Linked DNA regions of Homo sapiens: regions 1, 3, 4 and 5 are each linked to region 2. Evidence: promoter capture Hi-C in human tissues and cell types (Jung and others, 2019). All regions are on one chromosome and are shown on one strand. Each heading gives the region's core, a stretch centred on a gene start or on the middle of the fragment in contact. The rest is flanking DNA. Distances are from core to core; before and after follow the strand shown.

Evidence for each region. The method cuts DNA at HindIII sites, captures the fragments that hold promoters and counts their contacts. A contact is called where the count stands out against the background at its distance.
Region 1: a contact is called between a fragment that was not itself captured here and the fragment with the promoter of NBR1 in region 2, in 1 of the 25 tissues and cell types used here (dorsolateral prefrontal cortex).
Region 3: the fragment with the promoter of EZH1 here is called in contact with the fragment with the promoter of NBR1 in region 2 in 2 of the 25 tissues and cell types used here (heart left ventricle and liver).
Region 4: a contact is called between a fragment that was not itself captured here and the fragment with the promoter of NBR1 in region 2, in 2 of the 25 tissues and cell types used here (liver and mesendoderm cells).
Region 5: a fragment that was not itself captured here is called in contact with the fragment with the promoter of NBR1 in region 2 in 1 of the 25 tissues and cell types used here (hippocampus).

What each region holds. Positions count from the first base shown.
Region 1 is chr17:42,814,955-42,817,654 of GRCh38, forward strand. BECN1 (beclin 1) reads right to left here. Exons shown (of 12, transcript NM_001313998.2): 8 at 954-1,100. Among named protein-coding and RNA genes, the nearest start is that of MIR6781, 7.6 kb to the right of the region's middle. The HindIII fragment of the contact is 7,607 bases long and covers 1-2,700 here.
Region 2 is chr17:43,169,825-43,172,524 of GRCh38, forward strand. NBR1 (NBR1 autophagy cargo receptor) reads left to right here and starts at 1,390. Exons shown (of 21, transcript NM_005899.5): 1 at 1,390-1,478. It overlaps LOC101929767 (a long non-coding RNA gene), which reads right to left and starts at 579. Exons shown (of 2, transcript NR_110868.1): 1 at 302-579. LOC124900391 (a long non-coding RNA gene) reads right to left here and starts at 1,140. Exons shown (of 2, transcript XR_007065760.1): 1 at 592-1,140. It also overlaps a transcript of BRCA1 not described here and the pseudogene BRCA1P1. RefSeq lists enhancers at 211-420, 691-740, 991-1,100, 1,421-1,530. The HindIII fragment of the contact is 14,047 bases long and covers 1-2,700 here.
Region 3 is chr17:42,743,638-42,746,337 of GRCh38, forward strand. EZH1 (enhancer of zeste 1 polycomb repressive complex 2 subunit) reads right to left here and starts at 1,403. Exons shown (of 21, transcript NM_001991.5): 1 at 1,374-1,403. RefSeq lists a silencer at 981-1,560. The HindIII fragment of the contact is 12,026 bases long and covers 1-2,700 here.
Region 4 is chr17:42,883,067-42,885,766 of GRCh38, forward strand. LINC00671 (long intergenic non-protein coding RNA 671) reads right to left here. Exons shown (of 6, transcript NR_027254.1): 3 at 1,529-1,620. Among named protein-coding and RNA genes, the nearest start is that of LINC00671, 14 kb to the right of the region's middle. The HindIII fragment of the contact is 4,241 bases long and covers 1-2,700 here.
Region 5 is chr17:42,666,525-42,669,224 of GRCh38, forward strand. It overlaps TUBG2 (tubulin gamma 2), which reads left to right. Exons shown (of 11, transcript NM_016437.3): 11 at 79-482. The coding sequence ends at 276. PLEKHH3 (pleckstrin homology, MyTH4 and FERM domain containing H3) reads right to left here. Exons shown (of 13, transcript NM_024927.5): 13 at 1,390-1,779. The coding sequence ends at 1,603. Among named protein-coding and RNA genes, the nearest start is that of TUBG2, 8.6 kb to the left of the region's middle. RefSeq lists an enhancer at 1,706-2,281. The HindIII fragment of the contact is 5,317 bases long and covers 1-2,700 here.

The DNA.
Region 1 (2,700 bases), core at 167-2,666, 350 kb before region 2:
CTTTCCACTTTTCTCCAAATTCAATGCTACTATTCTTTTCCTTTAGATTCCTACTGATGAGTATCCTTTCCAACGATTCCACCCCTTTACCCCAAGTCATTCCCCATGGTGCAGGAAAAGCCATCATTCACGAATACAAGTGTAATTACGTCACTTCCCTAGCTAAAATGCTTCAGTGTCTCCTCTGCCTTTTGGATGAAGTCCAAACCTCTTAACGAGGCCTACGAGATCCTTCAGGAACTGGTAACTCTCCAGTTTCATATCCGGCCACTCTCCCCTTTACACTCAATCTTCAGTCACAATAAGCTCCTTTCTGTTCTCTGAATTCACCACTCCCTCTTTCCCATTTCTTTGCACATAATGTTCTCTCTGCTAGGAACAACCCCCTCTCTGCAGACTTCTACTTTACCTCTCAGTTTAAACGTAAGTCCCCTATGGGGAAACTCTCCATATGGCCTCCCCAAACTGGATCAAGTGCCCTTATGTGTTCCCACAGCACCCTGGGTTTACCATCATCACACTGCATTACAACTGCTTGTTATTTATCCATCTCTTCCACCAGATTATATGCAACTAGAAGGTTGACTGCATACTGTTTTGCTGTTGCCCTCCTAGCACTCAGCACAGTGCCTTTTCCAGAGTAGACACTCAACAGTTATTAAATTAATGGAACATCAAACACCGTGGGGATAAGAAATCAGCACCAGACAGCTTACCAGGTTTTTAAGTGGCTGAAGGGCTCAGGCCTTTTCCTTTCTTTAGAAGGGCGGATGTCACCAAGCTCTAGAATTCCAATCCCTACTGTGCCTATCCCATCACTATGAATGAAAGAAACCTAGTTGGGTGAAGATAACCTACAGTCCCTCTTTTGTGGGAAGTGGGCACCCAGGCTTAGTGGTCAACAGCTAAGGTCTAGATATGTGCAGTGCTCCTCATCCCCTAGCTCTCATTACCAGATGTGGAAGGTTGCATTAAAGACGTTGGTTTTCTTCAGCTTATCCAGCTGCGTCTGGGCATAACGCATCTGGTTTTCAACACTCTTCAGCTCATCATCCAGCTCCAGCTGCTGTCGTTTAAATTCACTGTATTCTCTCTGATACCTGTGAGCAGCCAAGGGGGCCATTGAAGGCTGTTAGCTTGGGGGCTAAAGTTTCTCTCTCACCACACTATGAACGATTCTTTAGTGATCATCGTTACATCTAGCTCTCGCATCTTTTATATTTGGCATAGATCCCATTCTGAGGAACATGTATGTCCTAGCTGTTTTGCCTGGAAGGAACAGAAATGTCTCAAATTCCAGCTGCCCATATGCAAAAAGGTGGAGGAAAAAAGAATTCTCCCAAACCAGGGCAAAAAACCTCTTATTTCTGATCTTTTTCAGAAGTGAGGTGAATGGGTTAGGAGTGGCTTCTTGGGGCCAGGCGTGGTGGCTCACACCTGTAATCCCAGCACTTTGGGAGGCCAAGACGGGTGGATAACTTGAGGTCAGGAGTTCGAGAGCAGTCCGGCCAATGTGGTGAAACCCTGTCTCTACTAAAAATACAAAAATTAGCCAGGCGTGGTGGTGCACACCTGTAGTCCCAGCTACTTGGGAGGCTGAAGTGGCAGAATTGCTTCAACCCAGGAGGCAGAGGTTGCAGTGAGCTATCACACCACTGTACTCCAGACTGGGCAACAGAGCCGAGACTCTGTCTCAAAAAAAAAAAAAAAAAAGAGTGGCTTCTGCTTCTTCTGGGCCGGGTGCAGTGGCTCACACCTGTAATCCCAGCACTTTGGGAGGCTGAGGTGGGCAGATCACCTGAGGTCAGGAGTTAGATGCCAGCCTGGCCAACATGGTGAAATTCCGTCTCTACTAAAAAAATAAAATTAGCCAGGCGTGGTGGCGCACGCCTGTAGTCCCAGCTACTTGGGAGGCTGAGGTAGGAGAATCGCTTGAACCTGGGAGGTGGAGGTTGCAGACAACTGAGATCATGCCACTGCACTCCAGCCTAGGCAACAGAGTGAGACTCTGTCTCAAAAAAAAACCAAAATCAAAAACAAAAAACAGTGGCTTTTTCCAGCTGGCCATGGTGGCTTATGCCTGTAAACCCAGCACTTTGGGAGGCTGAGGCAGGTGGATCACTTGAGCTCAAGAGTTCAAGACCAGCCTGGGCAACATGGGGAAACTCCATCTCTATAAAAAATACAAAAATTAGCCAGGTATGGTGTTGCGCGCCTGTAGTTCCAGCTACTTGGGAGGCTGAGGCGGGAGGATTGCTTAGGTGTAGGAAGTCAAGGCCGCAGTGAGTCATGACTGCACCACTGCACTCCAGCCTGGATGACAGAGTAAGACTCTGTTTCTAAAAAAAAAAAAAACAAAAAAACAGTGGCTTCTTCCATGAACTGGCCATAATTGGCCTTCTAAAGCTTCATTTCTATACACTTACTGTCCTTTAAATAGTTACTATACCCCACTTCCAGTGAAACTTGTTATACTACTGTGTGAAAAAAATGGACTTTTCTCTATCCTTCATTTCCACAACTTCAGTTAGTATGGACACTGTGTGTCCTCCACTAGAGAGAGGGTTCTCTCAGGTCAAGGACATCTATAATGTTTTTATTTTTTGAGACAGGGTCTCAACTCTGTTGCCCAAGCTGGAGTGCAGAGGTGTGATCACAGCACACTGTAACCTCAAACTCCTGGGCTCAAGTTATCCTCCA
Region 2 (2,700 bases), core at 140-2,639:
CTGTCCCCCGTCCAGAACGTCTCAGCGAGCTCACGACGCGCAGTCACGTTTTTTTCCCCCCCTCTACACTGCAGATGTGGCTCCCAATGTTGACGTTGGCCAGGACCTTTGCAAACAAGCCAGGCCAAAAAGTTTCAATATTTACACTGGCTGCTTTAATAAGGGCATTGATCTTATCCTCCGTAAAGGTCACCTCATAGTCCTGCAGAATGAGGGCAGAGTAGATGCAGGCAAGCTGGGAGACGGAGGCCATAGCGCGGGCGAGTGTGGGGCTGGGGCTGCCGGACGCGGTGCTACTCACCGGATGAAGTGAGGGTCTCACCCCAACGCGGCCTTAGCTTCCTCGGAAGGACCGAACACCTTGGCGGCAGCCGAGGAAAGGGGTTCCACAGTTTTAATTTATCTGTAATTCCCACGCTTTACTGTTGCCACGGAAACCGCTGAGCAATAGCCTCTCAGAATAGGAAATCAAGACACAGTCAGAGGAAGGGCGGGACAGAAAGAGCCTAGCATCTCTCGGGGCTCTGGGTTGGCCACCCAGTCCTCCCCTGGTGACATAAAAAGAAAGAGACGGAAAAGGAAGAATTCTACCTGAGTTCGCCGTAAAGCGCCCGCCCTCTCGCCTCTACGCTTCCAGTTGCGGCTTATTACGTCACAGTAATTGCTGTACCAAGGTCAGAATCGCCACCTGAGGCCTGAATATCAGCGTAAGATAGTGTCCAAAGCAGTCTTAAGAAGAGGTCCCATTACCCCACTCTTTCCGCCCTAATGGAGGTCTCCAGTTTAGGTAAATAAAAGGATTGTTGGGAGGTGGAGGGAAAGAACTACTATTTCCAACATGCATTGCGGAACGAAAGGCCTTGGCCACACTGTTCCTTGGAAACTGTAGTCTTATGGAGAGGAACATCCAATACCAAAGCGGGCACAATTCTCACGGAAATCCAGTGGATAGATTGGAGACCTCCGCGGGCTTATACATGTCAACAGTAATGGATTGGAGTGTTGTTATGTTCTCCTATCTTGAGAGCAGAGACTAGGCCAAAAAAAGATACCTACAACTCCTAGGAAGACTACGATTCCCATCCAGCCCCACGAGTCTCGGGCAAGTAGTCCTCTAAGGTCAGTGGCCTGCGGGGACGCAGTGGGCGCCGAATTTGCCTGGGGAAGGGGAAATCCGCTCTGGCCCACATCTGCGCACTCCTAGTTCCGCCCCTCAGCCTCAATGTTTGTTATTGTTGTTCGGGTTCAGGTTGCTTCTGCCCCGCCCCATCGACGCAATCTCCACCAATCAATGGCGTGGTCGTTTTGAGGGACAAGTGGTGAGAGCCAATCATCTTGGCGAACACTCGGAGAAACAGGGGACTAGTTACTGTCTTTATCCGCCATGTTAGATTCACCCCACAGGGATAGCGGCAGAGCCGGTAGCGGACGGTCCTTGCATTGGCCTCCGGCAGGCGCCCCCCGGGGGCGGGAAGCTGGTAAGGAAGCAGCTGCGGTTACCTAGGGGTGGGGTCACGTCACGCTAAGAGGGTTTGGGGAAGTTCAAGGGAGGAATCCTGCAAAGAAGAGGGGCGACTTTTTCCGTGTTTCGGGACAGCTAATCTTTTTAGTGACAGGATGAGAGAGCCCTTCATGTTCAGAGGGACCGAGTTGGCGAGAAGCGCCGGAGAGTTGGAGAGTCTGTGGGTCAGAACATCCGGCTTCTACTGATGGAAGGCCACGACTCCCCAGTGGAATGAGGGCCTAGGCAAAGAAAATGAGAGAGCCCTCGGGGTAGTGACACTGTCTTGGGAACATGGAGTGCTAGGAAACGAAAACTGGAAGACTAGGATGAACTCTGCAAGTAAAAAAATGACACTACTTACACATCCTTCTCATCCCATCCTCGTTTTTTCGAGACCTTAAAGAGATCTCCTTGGTTAGGGACCTTCGGTTTTGGAAAGGCACTGTTTTTCCTTTTTGTCAAACACTCAGCTTTCAGGCCACACTTTTTTGAGACAGAGTCTTGCTTTCTCAAAGACCAACCCAGGCTGGGCTTGAACTGCTGAGCTCAAGCGATCCTCGTGCCTTGGCCTCCCAAAGTGCTGGGATTACAGGTATAAGCCACCGCTCCCGGCCTCAGGTCACACATTTTAAAGCCTGGATAACTTGGCTTGTAAAGGCCTCTGGTGGAGACAGTAATCAAAGCTCAGGTTGCCAGGTCTGTTTCATTAAAGGGATTTTGTTGAGGCTGAAAAAAAAATCGACGTGGAGGAAAAGCTAACTTGTGCCAAGCAAAGGTGAGTCAGTGGCATGGACTTACAATAATGCCAGTTATGAAAGCTGAAGGCCTAAGACCCAGCTATCTGACTCTACTGGCTGTAGACCTAAGGGGCAGATAGGGTTAACCATAGCTTTGGTGTTTACACACGTTTAAGATTAATGCTCCTGCTGAAAGAATTTTTTTACATGTCAGCCAAAGAGAGTTCCTTATGAAGACCTGGATATGGTCCAGCCAAGCTAGAATCTCCCACTTCCTGTTTTCTCTTAGTTGGCCCACCAGCTGGAGGAGCTCCAGAGTATCTAAATTTCCAATTGTGTAATTTGAGAAAAAGAGAGGAAGATTCATTTCCTTCACAAGTAGGGAAGTGTGTTTCTTGAAGTTGGAAAGTGATATTTCAGAATACCCACTTTTGGCGGACTGAGTCACTTCATTTCCTT
Region 3 (2,700 bases), core at 153-2,652, 430 kb before region 2:
TTTTTTTTGTAGAGATGAGGTCTCGCTATTGTTGCCTGAGCTGGTCCCAAACTCCTGGGCTCAAGCTATTCTCCTGCCTGGGCCTCCCGAATGCTGGGATTTCAGATATGAGCCACCGAGCCCAGTCTAAAGTACTTATCTCCTAACACACACTCTCTCCTATGTAAGTAATCTCTTTTATCAGTGGCATATCTGGGGATTCCAAGACTTAAAATAGACAAGCTTTCACAGAAACCTCTAATAGGGTTAGCACCTTCTCAGGCTGGAAACCTCCTTCAATATCAGTTTCCTAAATTTAAAAAACATGGGGTGTGGGAATTTTTTTATTCAGCGGCAGTATGGCAGCAAACGTGGAGGAGACTCGCGTTTTCATTGCCATCCTTGCACCCACCTAATTGTTAGTGTACCTGAGCTCCTTTGCTTTCATCCTCCCCTGCCAAGCGTCAGGTTCCTATCGGCCTGGGCTACATCACATACAACCCTGTATTTCACCCTCCATATTCCTTCACATTCCACGGGGGGCACTAACATCCTTCAGGTATCCCTTCCCTTCCCTGCTCAAGAAACAATTCCTCAGTAGTCACTTTTTATTGAAATAAAAGTTTGTCCCACATTTCCTAACAGGCATGTCCCAAATACAACACCTTGTCTGTGCTTCAAGGCACTTTTATTTATATCATTTGATCCTCGGTTGAATGGTGGGGGTGAGCGATCATTGGCGTGAGACCAAAAGTCTGGAGTGAAGGAGATTCTTGCTCAGGGCCAGGCCTGGGGTGAGGCGACCGAGGCACCCAGGACGCACGTGAGGAGGCGCTCACTGCACTTGCGCGACCCTGAGTCAGTGCTCCTTTACACTTTGTGCCTTGGGAGCCTTACTCACCTCACCCTAGTCCCGGCCTTGTTTTTACTGCTACCCCTCCTCAACATCCCCGAAAGCCATCGCAAGATCAGCCCCGGTCTCTAGCCCTCCCCAAGCACAGCTCCAGGTCCCCAGAGTCCACCTCGCTAAAGGCCCCCGCAGGTGCCACCGCCCTCCCGCGCCCTTTGGGCGCTGGGGCTCCCGCCCACCGGCCCACACCGCCATCCAACGGGATTCCCCGTCCCCGAGCCCGCCCCCGCCGCTCCTCCTCCCGGGCACACAGCCCTCGCAGCCCCAGACGCTGTCCTCGCCTGGGTCTCTCTCGCCCCGTCGCCCCCATTCCCCCACCCTCGGAATGAGGAGGGGCGCCTGCTACCCCCGGCCAGGCAGGCAGTGTGTCCCTCGGATTCCTTCCAATTTCCTGATCCCTCCGCCTCTCCCTCCCTCAGGCCCAGGGCGGCGAGGGGAGGAGGCCCGGCCCCACCGCCCGGCCCAGGCTTGTTTACTCACTCACCCTCCATCCCGAGCCGCGGGTCCCGCTGCTAGGACGCATGCGCGCCGCGGCCCCACCCCTGCGCCGTGCCCCGCCCCGCGCCTCCTGTCGGCGCGTGCGCATTGACTTACCCGTGCCGCGCGGACGCACTACTGTCATTTGCCGCCAAAACCCCGCACTCAGGAGTCCTGGCGGGTGCAGCCTCCCAGACGGCTTCCAAAGCGGCGCTGGCAGGGGAGGGGAAGGGCTCTGGGGAAACCTTCGCAGAGCCACTAATATCTTCCTGAAGACCCTATTCAGCGGATTTGCCATCCCCACGCGCTGGTGACAAGCCACATCTCACTTCAGCGTTTGAAGCCAACCCAGATCACCTTCATACCGATGCTTCACCCCTACCAGTTCTCCAGACACCGGTCTATGGGTTCTAAGCCCTTTATTTATGTCTGATCTCCCTATTTCTGTTCATAGTTTTCTAGTCACTTAGAATCAAAATTATAGCCTTGTATCGAAATAAATCCCCACAAGACACCTGCTAGTTACAAAGGGAAAAAAATAGCAACTTTACAGATAAGAATCTGTCAGACACCACCTTAACTAAGTGATCAAAGTTAGCATCACTAGTGATAAGAGGTATTGTTTTCTTCTTCTTTTTTTGCCGGGGGGCGAGGCTGGACGGAGTCTCGCTTTGTTACTTACACAGGCTGGAGTGCCGTGGCGCGATCTCGGCTCACTGCAACCTCTCCCTCCCGGGCTCAAGCAATTCTCCCGCCTCAGCCTCCCAAGTAGCCAGGAATACAGGTTCGTGCCACCACGCCCGGCTAATTTTTGTATTTTTAGTAGAGATGGGGTTTCACCGTATTGGCCAGGCTGCTGTCAAACTCCTGACCTCAAGTGATCTGCCTACCTCGGCCTCCCAAAGTGCTGAGATTACCGGCATGAGCCACCACGCCCGGCCTCCCTCTTCTTTTTAAGGAGACAGGGTCTTGCTGTGTTGCCTAGGCTGGTCTTGAACTCCAGGGTTCAAGCCATCCTCCCACCTTGATTTCCCAAAGTGTTGGGATTACAGGCATGAGCCATTGCCCCCAGCTGAGAGGTATTCTTACCAGGTCCCTCTGAACATGATGCAATGAGAAGCGCACAAAATCACTTCTGTGGTATTCTTGACGAACACGCATAAGCTGATTTTTTGTGCGTGTTGTTTGTTTGTTTGTTTTGAGACAGTTTCACTCTTGTTGCCTAGGCTGGAGTGCAATGGTGCAATCTCGGCTCACTGCAATCTCTGCCTCCTGGGTTCAAGCGATTCTCCTGCCTCAGCCTCCCAAGTAGCTGGGTTTACAGGCATGCACTA
Region 4 (2,700 bases), core at 159-2,658, 290 kb before region 2:
CATTGTACTCCAGCCTGGGCAACAAGAGCAAAATTCCGTCTCAAAAAAAAATAAAAATAGAATTTGTCCACTAGGTACTGTGCTAGGTGCTGGCGGGGGAGACAGTGGGTCCCAGACAGACAGACATGGCCCCCCGACTGGCTTGGCCCAGGGGAGATGCTGCTGGAACAAGAAAACCTCTCTGATGGTTCTTGGAAGTGGGAGCTGGCCCGAGGCCCTCCATCTGCCCCTCATCTCCCTCTCAGAGGCTGTTGCTTCTTCTCTCAGACCCTCTGGCCCCAGCTTCCCTGTAGCTGCCACAGAAACCTCATCATATGAAGGGAAAGAGGCTGTAGCATTCTCAGTAGGGCCCGGGTCTCAAACACCTCCATGCTGCATGTCTCTTATACCACTTTTTTTTTTTTTGAGACGGAGTTTTGCTCTGTTGCCCAGGTTGGAGTGCAAGTGCCATGATCTCGGCTCATTGCAACCTCTGCTTCCCGGGCTTAAGCGATTCTTGAGCCTCAGCCTCCCAAATGGCTGGGACTACAGGCACGCACCACCATCCCCAGCAAATTTTTGTATTTTTAGTAGAAATGGGGTTTCGCCATGTTGCCCAGGCTGGTCTCAAACTCCTGAGCTCAGGCATTCCATCTGCCTTGGCCTCCCAAAGTGCTAGGATTACAAGCATGAGCCACAGTACCCAGCCCCTTATGCCTCTTAACTTTACATCTCCGGGTCAGAATATGATGGGGAATTCTCCCTTTCTCGAGGACCTCCAAGGAATGTGATGTCTGTCACTCCCAATTCTCCTATTGAGAAGGAAAAGCCAGTACAGGACAGAATACTCTGGGCCAGATAATTTCCATCTTTGTTTCACTTAATCCGCATAACAACCTTGAAAGGCAGATGTTAATTACACCCATTTCACAGATGCAGAAACTACAATTCAGAGAGATTAGGAAACATGCCCACAGTCATCTGGCTGGTAAAAGGTGGGGCTGGGAGTGAACCCAGATCTTTGCAGAATTACACCTCACGGCCTTCCCTGGGCCGTGGCTCTTTTTCCACTGCCTGGTAGGCCTGTTTGAAGAATTAAACAAGGTATCAGACTCATCTGAATATTGTAAGAAAAAAAAAAAGAATGAAACAAGGTAATGCTTGAGAAACCCTTGGCACCTGATCCATATTAAGTGACCCTCTCAGAGCAAAGTCATCACTCAAATGACAAGGGCAGAAATATGCAGAGCTGCTTTTCACAAAGGTGCTCAACCTTGACTGCACATTGAAATCACCTGGGAAGCTTGTAAAACTCCACATACTCGGACTGCGCCTCAGCCTGATATGATCAGAGCCTCTGGGGGCAAACCACAGACATGACTGGCTTTTAAATTTCCCCGGGTGATTCTACTGTGTAGCCAAGGTTGGGAGAACTCTGGAGATGGTAGTTCAGTTCCAAGCCTCCCAAGAGGAAGCTGACTAGAGAGTCTAAGACATAAAGAATGTGTCCATCAGAAGGTGCAGAAAGGGGCCAGGCACAGTGTCTCACCTATAATTCCAGCACTTTGGGAGGCTGAGGCAGGCAGATCACTTGAGTCCAGGAGTTCGAGACCAGCCTGGCAACATGGCAAAACCCTCTCTCTACAAAAATACCAAAAAAAAAAAAAAAAATTAGCCAGGATGGTGACATGCACCTGTGGTCCCAGCTACTAGGGAGGCTGAGGTGGGAGGATCATTTGAGCCTGGGAGGCAGAGGCTGCAGTTAGCCAAGATCATGCCACTGCACTACAGCCTGGGCGACAGAGTGAGAAGACCCCGTCTCCCTCAGAAAGAGAGCATCACAGAGCCTGCCCTGACAGTGACAATCAGCCACATTTGGAGCAGAGGACCTGGCCAGGGCCAGGACACGTCCTGTCCTAGAGGCACTTTAGCCATGCACATGGAGTCATCGGGCCTTATTGAAGCTATATTGTGACCAACTGCTGGTTCTGATTCCCAGCTCGACAGGCCAGCTTCCCACCACATCATGGTGATGGGAAGAAAATGGACACATCACTTACATCTCTTTTTGTAAATGAACTAATTGACATTCTAATAAGAATTACTTTTGCTTTGACAGTTACAGTAAATCAACAGATTGACCTTCAGGTGTAATTTTGGTATATATAGACCTTCCCTGAAAGACAATTCCCATTGGTGAGCTGAGGAATCTGGTTTCTGATTCAGGCTTCTCCCTTGGAGTGGGGTGAATTCACCAATAAACCATCTTGAGATATCTTGGGAGATGTCAGCCAGCCTCATCTGATGCAACCAGCCTAGCCACGGACTTCACGTCTAACTTTCAGAGCAGAGACTCCATGTCAGCAAATTCCTCGCCTCCTTCCCTCCTCTCCTATAGTTTTGGCTTTTTGTATTGTTTTGTTTTTGTTGTTGTTTTGTTTTGTTTTTGTTTTTGTTTTTGAGACAGAGTCTCACTCTGTCACCCAGGCTGGAATGCAGTGGCGCGATCTTGGTTCACTGCAACCTCCGCCTCCAGGTTGAAGTGATTCTCCTGCCTCAGCTTATTGAGTAGCTGGGATTACAGGCGCCCGCCACCACGCTCAGCTAATTTTTGTATTTTTAATGGAGATGGGGTTTCACCATGTTGTTCAGGCTGGTCTCGAACTCCTGACCCCAGGTGATCTACCCACCTTAGCCTCCCAAAGTGCTGGGATTACAGGC
Region 5 (2,700 bases), core at 3-2,502, 500 kb before region 2:
ACTGGCCACCTTCATCATCTTCCCCAAGTTCACTCCTAACCCCCTGGCTCGCATTTTGGAGATTTTCATCTCTTTCAGCTCTTTGAAAGTTCCTGCCAGCAGTTTGACAAGCTGCGGAAGCGGGATGCCTTCCTCGAGCAGTTCCGTAAGGAGGACATGTTCAAGGACAACTTTGATGAGATGGACAGGTCTAGGGAGGTTGTTCAGGAGCTCATTGATGAGTACCATGCGGCCACCCAGCCAGACTACATTTCCTGGGGCACCCAGGAGCAGTGATTTCCCTCCCCACTACTCCTTCTCCTTCTAGATGGTAACCACAGCCTCGACCATGCCTGCTCCCTCTGACCCAGCTTCACCTCATGGACAACCCTTCTTGGTTCATCTCCAGCCCGTGAGCTGGTCCTGCTTCCTCCCTTCCATGCCCTAACTTTTAATATGCTTGTTCAGCTCTAATAAAGTAATAAAGCTTGGTTGTCAGTATAGCCAGGGCTTGATCTGTGAATACGGGGGGGTGGTGAAGGGGTCCAGTTTCTAGGCATCTGACAGTAGGGTGGCCTTCACCTCCTCCAACGTCTTATCACTTAGTCCAAATCTTAGTGTGTTCACTGTTTCCATTGGCATCCCTCACCTTGAACTAGGCTGTTTAGTATTACTAGAGTCAGCCCTTGTCTCAAGATTACAGAGCTTTACTGAGGTTTGCTGTCTCCTCAGCGCCTAAGCTTTGCCCCAGTGAGGGTCAATGTTGCCCCAACCTCTTCCACTCAGGGCAGAGGAGGTGGGGTCTACTGAAGGAGGGCACACTACATTCTGAGCAGGCCAGGAGAGCCAAGGTTCCAGATTCCCAGTGCCCAGGGCCATGAGAGTTCCAGGAACTCAATCCAGTTCAACCCAACCTGATAAGTAGAAACAGAATTCAAGAGTAGGGCTGAGCACATCCTGAGTTACTTTTCTGTGCCAGAGAAATTCGTGGGTTTGTTATCTGCCCCAAGCTTCTCTCCATTCTAGGCCCAAAGCATTAGGCACACCAATGATGGGCCCAGAGGTGGACAACGAGTAAGAAATGGGCAGTGCCAGATCTGATGACTCACTGCCCTCCAGCCTCAGGGATTCCAGGAGGCCATCTGTATGCCACTCAGTGGAGAAGGGAGGGTGAGTAACTGCCAGCTTCCAATGAGGCCTGTTTGCCTGCTCCACCCACAAACCTGTGGCAGCACACTGGCCAGGAGGAGGTTAAGTCTGGAAGGTCAAGGAGGGGGAGGGTGAAGCGCTGTGGTGTCCAGACTTCCCCCAGAGCCTGGTAAAAGCCCAGGGTGTGGGCATCCCCAGAGGCGGGGCTCTGCGTTATGGGGTTCCAACTTGTCCCACTGAATAACACTCCCACAGGAAGGGTTTGTGTAAATAAGAAACTTTTTTTTTTTTTTTGCTTCTCTTCTACAAATAAATTAAGAAACAAACTAGAAAATTACCCACACCCATTGTAGCCCTTGGGTGTGGGATGTGCCCTGTCCCTGCAGGGCCAAAAGGGTCCATGTTTCCCTCAAATCTCAGAGCAGTCCTGGCCCAGGCTGCAGGCAGGAGGGAAGTCGTGACCTCTTGGCAGGCTCAGTCCTGCAGCTGCCCCAAGCAGCCAGACTGTCCCTGGGGCTCGTCCAGGCCCGGGCGCTGGCTGGGAGGGGAGGTGTCTGGCAGGTCTTGGCATGGAGGAGAAGAGCTGCTGCAGGGCCTCTCGGGGGAGGGGTTGGCCAAGTAGGCATTCACCAGCTGCATGATCTCTTCCACCTAAGAGAGGGCAGAGGTCAGTGTGCAACAGGGGCTGCCAGGTTCTCTTCTTTTTCTCATCCTTTCTCCAGGCTCTAGGGCTCCAGCTTCCCCACCAGGGTCCTACGTGCTCTGGCCCTGCAACCTTTCCTTCCTTATCACCACTCTCTCCTTCATTTCTTTTTTGTTTTTTGAGACGGAGTCTCGCTGTGTCCCCCAGGTTGGAGTGCAGTGGCGCGATCTCAGCTCACTGCAAGCTCCGCCTCCTGGGTTCACACCATTCTCCTGCCTCAGCCTCCTGAGTAGCTGGGACTACAGGCGCCCGCCAACACGCCCGGCTAATTTTTTGTATTTTTAGTAGAAACAGGGTTTCACCGTGTTAGCCAAGATGGTCTCGATCTCCTGACCTCATGATCCGCCCATCTCGGCCTCCCAAAGTGCTGGGATTACAGGCGTGAGCCACCGCGGCCGGCTTCTCTCCTTCATTTCTATGTGCCAGTTATACTTGGTTCTTTCTGCTCTTCTAACATTTTTTTTTGTTGTTGTTGTTGTTGTTGTTGTTGAGACGGAGTCTTGCTCTGTTGCCAGGCTGAAGTGCCTCGGCTCACTGCAACCTCCGCCTGCCGGGTTCAAGCAATTCTCCTACCTCAGCTTCCCGAGTAGCTGGGACTATAGGTGTGCGCCACCAGCCCCAGCTAATTTGTATTTTTAGTAGAGATGGGGTTTCGCCATGTTGGTCAGGATGGTCTCGATCTCCTGACCTCGTGATCTGCCCGCCTCGGCCTCCCAAAGTGCTGGGATTACAGGCATGAGCCACTGCACCCGGCCACCTTGCAATTCTTTCTACCTGGAATGCTGTTCTCCCAGGTCTTCCCTGGCTAGCTTAAATGGCACCCTTTTTGAGAACCCTTCCCTGGCTTCCTGTCACATCACTCTTTCCTT